2 separate regions of the Homo sapiens genome follow, and region 2 is linked to region 1. The links are contacts of gene promoters, found by promoter capture Hi-C in blood cells and fetal thymus (Javierre and others, 2016). All regions are on one chromosome and are shown on one strand. The core of a region is centred on a gene start or on the middle of the fragment in contact, and the rest is flanking DNA. Distances in the headings are between cores, read along the strand shown. Region 1 holds the start of DYNC2H1 (dynein cytoplasmic 2 heavy chain 1). Region 2 overlaps ARHGAP42-AS1 (ARHGAP42 antisense RNA 1).

Evidence for each region. Contacts are between HindIII fragments. The CHiCAGO score rates a contact against its expected background, and 5 or more counts as called.
Region 2: a contact is called between a fragment that was not itself captured here and the fragment with the promoter of DYNC2H1 in region 1, in 1 of 17 cell types (total B cells). The highest score is 5.1, in total B cells.

Annotation. Positions count from the first base shown.
Region 1 is chr11:103,107,699-103,111,271 of GRCh38, forward strand. DYNC2H1 (dynein cytoplasmic 2 heavy chain 1) reads left to right here and starts at 1,728. Exons shown (of 89, transcript NM_001377.3): 1 at 1,728-2,071. The coding sequence starts at 1,877. RefSeq lists enhancers at 1,321-1,440, 1,511-1,560. The HindIII fragment of the contact is 957 bases long and covers 1,303-2,259 here.
Region 2 is chr11:100,681,497-100,685,069 of GRCh38, forward strand. It overlaps ARHGAP42-AS1 (ARHGAP42 antisense RNA 1), which reads right to left. Exons shown (of 2, transcript NR_133571.1): 2 at 2,665-3,573. LOC124902736 (a long non-coding RNA gene) reads left to right here. Exons shown (of 3, transcript XR_007062860.1): 3 at 1-414. Among named protein-coding and RNA genes, the nearest start is that of ARHGAP42, 4.0 kb to the right of the region's middle. The HindIII fragment of the contact is 2,291 bases long and covers 824-3,114 here.

The DNA of each region.
Region 1 (3,573 bases), core at 478-2,977:
TCCCACTCTGTGCCTCATTTTTCGTATATAGTAGTGAAAAGGAAACACAAAACTTCTATTTCATGGGGTTTACATGTCAACGGGAGCTTCCATGTTTGAGATCGGTGTTAAACTTGATTCAAACACAATTTCATAGTTTGTGGAAGCCCTAAGTTTCCTGAAGAGTTCTAAAAATTCTTGGGAGGATCACATACTCATGATCTCATCTGCTTTCTAGACTCATCTTCCTACATGTGTTGCCTTTTTATTTACCATATTGTTATGGAAGCTCAATTCAGCCATTTCATACATTTCCACCAAAACAACTCACCAAACCGAGCACTTGTGGGTAATGGAGACTTTCCTGAAGACCTTGGTAAGAGTGATAATGCTCATTGCAGAGCAGGAAACTCTGTAACCATAGTGGTCACTTTGGCTTTCAAAATCTTTTTATTAGCTACACAGTCATCTTGGGTTCCTGTTAGGATTTTTTCCCTCACCCAGTGGTCAGCATCCCACCTCACTGTTTGGATGTTTTCCCATCCAGTGGCCAGACTCCCATCTCTCACTGTTTGGATATTTCATGAGAATTTACATTCATTTCCTTTTATAATTTAGAGCAGTTCAGCTTTTTTAAGTTCCCACTCCAAAATCTTAAGTTGCTCAGCAAATAAAAGGACTCTCTCCTTCCAATTCTCAAATAGTATAGTTTTAAGGGGAGGTTATGATTATTAAGTGCAAACAAAAAAAATCTGCATATGTTTGTGTACCCTAGGATCTTGGGTCAAACCAGTGCTGAGGTGATGAATGACTACAGCAAAAACTTCCTGAGGGCAGGAACTGTGTCCCCAGGGCCTAGTTCGGTACTTGGCAAATTGTGTTAGATTGGTGCAAAAGTAATTACAGTTCTTGCCAAAAAACCGCAATTACGTTTGCACCAACCTAATAGCATGTAGTAAATATTTTTAGAAGAGAATTACTGAATTGAGAAAGTGTTTGACGAATGTTCGGATGAATGACCAGCAATTTAGTAGTTTATAGTAATGCCATGAAGTAGAAAATGACAAAGACCGTTTTCATATCTGTATTTTCACAGAATTTGGTTGCGGTTGTTATAAAATAAACTAAAAAGTATCATTTTACATTTTAGCTATTTTACAAATATGGTTGTGCTCGGGTAATGATTGCAATAAAAAATTGCTGGTTAAATTATTCTAAAATTAATAATAGAAAAAACGATGTTGGGAAATGCAGCAGCACAGAAAGGAGCAGAGGGCGACTGAGAAAGTAAATTAACATTGTATTGAATTCCTAGTCTTTATAAGCTTCTCTAAAAAGCGATTTTTAAATAGTAATCTTTTACAATCCGCACTACACCCCTGGTTGTGAGATAGTATTTCCCCTTCTTAACAGATGTGTACCTTGACGCTGACAGACTGGTTTGCTACCAGGTGCACGTGGAGAGCGAGCACTGGAACCCAGCTCTCCTAAATCTAGATCACGCTGCTGTACTTGAAGGCTAGATGTCTCTCTTCTGATTATGCGTGATAAGAAATCAGTAAGAAGAATAAAAGACATGTTTGAGAGCCAACATAAACTTGTCCGAACCCCTTACAATCGATGACCGCAGGGAGCCGCTGAAGAGCTCCGAGGCGGTCGATAGCCTCCGCGAGCTTTGCGTGCGCGTGCCCCGAGAGGGCAACGCCCACCGCGCGCCGCCAGCGACGCCGCCGTAGTGCTCCGTCGCCATAGCGACTACCCCTGGCAACCGCGAAGCTCTGCGGTCCCGCGGTCGGGCTACGGGTTTGAGCAAAGCTCCTCTCTTCCCTTCACTTCCCTCCGGACTGGTTTCTTCTTCCTTCCCCCTTCCCCCAACTTCCCTCCACCCCTTCCAATCATGGCGAACGGGACTGCGGACGTTCGGAAGCTCTTCATCTTCACTACTACCCAGAATTACTTCGGGTTGATGTCTGAACTCTGGGATCAGCCACTGTTGTGCAACTGTCTTGAAATCAACAACTTCTTGGATGACGGCAACCAGATGCTCCTCAGGGTGCAGCGATCCGACGCAGGAATCTCCTTTTCCAACACGGTACGGTTCCTTGCACTCCTGCCTGACCCCTGACCACTCTTCAAGTCCCCAGGCCCAGCCAGAGGGACGTCGGGTCACACTCTTTAGCTTTACCAACCAGATCCTTTTCAGGAACCCAAGGCTGTCTCCACTTCTCCTGCATTATTGGCTTAGATGCGTTGGCCTCGTGCTTAAGCAGGTAGTTTCCAAGCTTTGCATCCTACCTGACCGAAGCATGTTTCCCTTCCATACATCTGAATAGAAGCAATTAGATTGTGTTTTATTTTAAATTTTTATACGGAGTTTCGTTCTGTCGCTTAGGCTGGATGGAGTGTAGTGGCGCGATCTCTGCTCACTGCGTCCTCCACCTCCTGAGTTCAAGCGATTCTCGTGCCTCAGCCTCCCGAGTAGCAGGCGCGCGCCGCCACGCCTGGCTAATTTTTGTATTTTCAGTAGAGACGGGGGTTTCACCACGTTGGCCATGTGGGTCTCCATCTCCTGACCTCAAGTGATCCGGCCTCCCAAAGTGCTGGGATTGCAAGCATGAGCCACCGCGCCCGGCCTATATTCTACTTTTTAAGAAAGACTGCAGATACGTTATAACTAAAAAGAAAACATTTACTTAGTTATTTTTATTTTTTTCTCTCCCCTTTTTGAGTTTTTTTTTTGGGGGGAAGGCAAATTCTAGTCTATCTTTTTTGGATCAGGCTCTGATTTTAACATTGCCCAAGGGAAAGATTAGTTAGGAATTTAAATTTTTGTGAAATGATATATTTCAAAATAAAGTTTGAATTCTTTTTTGGTGTACATCATGTGATATACTGATTTATTAATTGCACTGCTCCCTCCACTGGCAGGATTGCTTAAAAAATGGGTTGCATTTGCAATCAGGGCTTATATATATAAGCCTAAAAGAAAAACACAGAAGAAAATTGCCTGACACATTAAAGGGGACTCAGTAAATAGATTTAAGTTAATAAAACAAAGACATATTTTAAACCTCTTCCTTTGGTGTTCACCCTTATCCCTAGGTCTAGCAGAGTTTTTGACACTCAGCAAAAACATTCAGTGCCTTTTTTTTTTTTTTTAGACGCAGTTCGCAGTTTCGCTCGTATTACCCAGGCTGGAGTGCAATGGCACAATCTTGGCTCACTGCAACCTCTGCCTCCCGGGTTCAAGCGATTCTCCTGCCACAGCCTCCCAAGTAGCTGGGATTACAGGGCATGTGCCACCACACCCAGCTAATTTTTTGCAATTAGTAGAAATGGGGTTTCACCATGTTGGTCAGGCTGGTCTCGAACTCCTGACCTCAGGTGATCCACCCGCCTTGGCCTCCCAAAGTGCTGGGATTACAGGTGTGTGCCACCGTGCCTGGCTTCAGTGCATTTTTATAGGATGATTGAATCATTCACCCTATTCACTATCTTTATTCTTAGGTTTAATTCGATTGTATTTAATAAACATTTACTTTGAACTCAGTACATGCAAGGCACTTTGCCAGGCATGATGGGTTTACAAAGATA
Region 2 (3,573 bases), core at 719-3,218, 2.4 Mb before region 1:
ACATGGTAAGGGTTTAATAAATGATAGTCATTATCGTTATCACTATCATCCTTAATTTTATACTTGGGAAAGGTGTAAAGCCTAAAAGTTAAATTATCCTAAGTCACACAGCTCATAAATGGCCTTTGGCTGGCCATTTGATTAATATTGCTGCTATAATTTATTAGATTGAAAATTTGATTAGGGCTGGATTGAGGTAAATTTACTCAAAATTACTGTTGTATTTCCAGCATCTACAGCAGCACAGAAATATAACAGATACTTATGAATATTTGTTGAATGTGTGTGTGTGTGTGTGTGTGTGTGTGTGTGTGTGTGTGTGTGTGTGTTTAGCATGGCCTTTTTACCAAGGTAGACCTGGATTGAAATCCCAACTCCAGTACCTTCCAGATATTATACATAAATTTAGGAAAGTTAATCACTTTTCAGTTATAACTTTCCCACTTGTTAAAAATGAAGCTAATCAGGCTGGGCACGGTGGCACATGCCTGTAATCCCAGCACTTTGGGAGGCCGAAGCGGGCAGATCACCTGAGGTCAGGAGTTCGAGACCAGCCTGGCCAACACGGTGAAACCCCATCTCTACTAAAAATACAAAAATTAGCCAGGCATGGTGGCACGTGCCTGTAATCCCAGCTACTCGGGAGGCTGAGGCAGAAGAATCATTTGAACCTGGGAGGCGGAGGTTGCAGTGAACCGAGATGGCGCCATTGCACTCCGGCCTATGGTACAAGAGCGAAACTCCATCTCAAAATAAAGAAATAAATAAAACTTTAAAAGTGGGGCTAATCAGATTTAATACCTATTTCACATGCTTGTGGATAAGCTTAGATGGGGCAATACATGCAAAAACTATCATGCCCAGTATTGGTGGAGGCTGCTTCTTTTCATTTTGTCTCCTTTTCCTGTGCTCTTTATGAAGTTTTCTGTCAGAGTTAGCAAACATCATGATTTGCCACAAGAGGGCAATACTAAATTGAAATCAAAATCTGTGCTAAAAAATGTCTTTTCCTAAATTAAGTGATTACCTCTCTCCCTCTCCTTTTTCCTTCTCCCCACCCCTCATAAATGTAGTTAGTTGTTGAGTATTTCTTGCTTAGACTTCTGTTCTTTTCCTTCAACCCATTCATCCGAAATCTGTCATCATAATAAAATCTAGATTTGGCAGGGACTTTAGAAGTTATATTGTGCAGTGGCTCACACCTGTAATCCTAGCACTTTGGGAGGCTGAGGTGGGAGGATTGCTTGAGTTTAGGAGTTCAAGACCAGCCTGGGCAACATAGCCAGACACCATCTCTTAGAAAAAAGGAGTCATATTGTCACATAGAACAAATTCCACTCTCTGCAGCTATTCTTCCCCTCTAGTTGACCTTGACTTCTGCTTCTGTGTCCCCCTCCGTTAAGCTAACACAACAGCCCTGAGTGTTTGTGCTGCACTTTTCTTTCTGAGAAAGTGCCTCTTAATTATTCTAACTTTACCTCAAACTCAGCATAGGAGACTCAACCTAAAATGTATATTTCTTCTAAAAAAAATAACACTTCTGAGTTGTATAGGCTTAAATCTCAGAGTTATGTTGGATTCTACCTCATCCACAAAAATCACACTATATTTCCTTCCTTTATTTAATCTGCTTACTGCCCATCTGTTGCCCAATCTCATGTGTACTTACCCCGTCTAAATTCTCTTTTCTCATCTCTCAGTCATTTGACTTTTTGGTCTTCCAACCATTGCTCTTTAGTCCATCTATTGGATAATGAGCTCTTGGAATCCATAGACTCATACAATGTGGGCTATGTTCTGTACTCTTCCTGTGAGAGACTCCCATTTCCTACCCCCAGACAAAGCGAAGTTTCTTTTTCAACCCGGACTACATTTAGCATTTGTCTGTGCTTCATGACAACCATGGAGAGGAAGCAGGGAGAGCTGTATGCATTTGAGAGGGGCTCTACAATTTGTGAGAGCATTTTTTTTAAACTGGAAAAGACAATGTTACTAAGTCACATAGGCTCCTGTCACTAATGATGTGTACATTTGCCCATCAGAAATGCAGTGTCATACACCAACTAATTTTTTGAGAAATAGTGATGTTAAGAGCATTGTGTGTGACAATAATAATACTTCTAATAAGGCAGAATAAAAAGATCTCGCCCTCTAAGGGCTTAATCTGAACTTCATTTTTTGGCTGTCAGAAGAGTATTTTAGAAAATTAAGTCAAAAATTAAGTAGGTTCAAATGCTTGTTTCTTTTTGTTTATTTGTTTTGGGTTTTTTAAAATTTTTATCTGTTTAAGATGACAGAGTCTCGTTCCATTGCCCAGGCTGGAGTGCAGTGGCACAACCTTGGCTCACTGCAACCTCTGCCTCCTGGCTTCAAACAATTCTCGTGCCTCAGCCTCCCTAGTACCTGCTGGGATTACAGGTGCACACCACCACACCCAGCTAATTTTTCTATTTTTAGTAGAGATGGGGTTTAATCATGTTGGCCAGGCTGGTCTCGAACTCCAGGTGAAATGCCCACCTGGGCCTCCTAAAGTGCTGAGATTACAGGCTGAGCTACCAGGCCTGGCTCCTCATATGGGTTTTAAATGTATATCTAATTCTTATTTCTTCTTTGCTTCTCTTTTTGATGACTGAATCATCTAAGTGAAATAAGACAGACACATTGTGCAAATATTGTATAATTTCATTTATATGAGATACCTACATTGTCAAATTCATAGAGACAGAAAGTACAATGGTTACCAGGAGCTGGGAGGAGGGGAAACCAAGAAGAAACACTTGGTTTCTGTTTAGTCATCTCTTACCAGGCTTGAACTTAACCTCAGATCAGCTGAGTCTGGGTGGTCTAAATCTACATAATTAATTGAAAAGTAATAATAGCTTGACAATAACACTTACTGAGTACATACGAAGTGCCAGGCTTAAGTGTCAGACATGATCTACGTCAAGAAACAGTTTTAGGCAGATTTACAAATGCCATATTAGTTTACTATCCTCTACTATCTATTTGCTCTCAAAAGCAAGTAAACAAAGCCCACATATCCCATTCCAGAATCAGGAAAACAAAGAGACATTTCTCTGTGCCAAAGAGCCTGTCAGCCAATAATATTTGCGAAGCTTACCACGCAGCTTACGGTGTCATGTGTTATGAAGTGGAAATTTCTGGACAGGCTATATTTCAATCCATTACATTTGTTTATGAAAACAGGCTTGCAGGTATTGCTGATCTTTTATATAGAAAGTCTATTCTCTAGGAAAGAATCTGGTTCAGTTAATTATGATGGAGAGAATCATGCATGGAAACAACAGTTCAAAACCGACAGTAAACCCACCTCAAAGCAAAAGCATTTCTGGTTTTTCTCAAGTAGCTGTGTTAATGTGGCATAAGAGAAAGCCTGACTAGCAGGTATAATTAAAGTATGAATCATAGGAATAAGCATGAGTAACTATGAAAACACCTACAAGAAATAAGCCCATTATAACATGATAAACTTTAGGGAATCATGAGTGAAGGGTAGGAGAAAAAATCCTAATTCCATGTAAATGCAATGATGGGCCTGAGTGGAAACATATT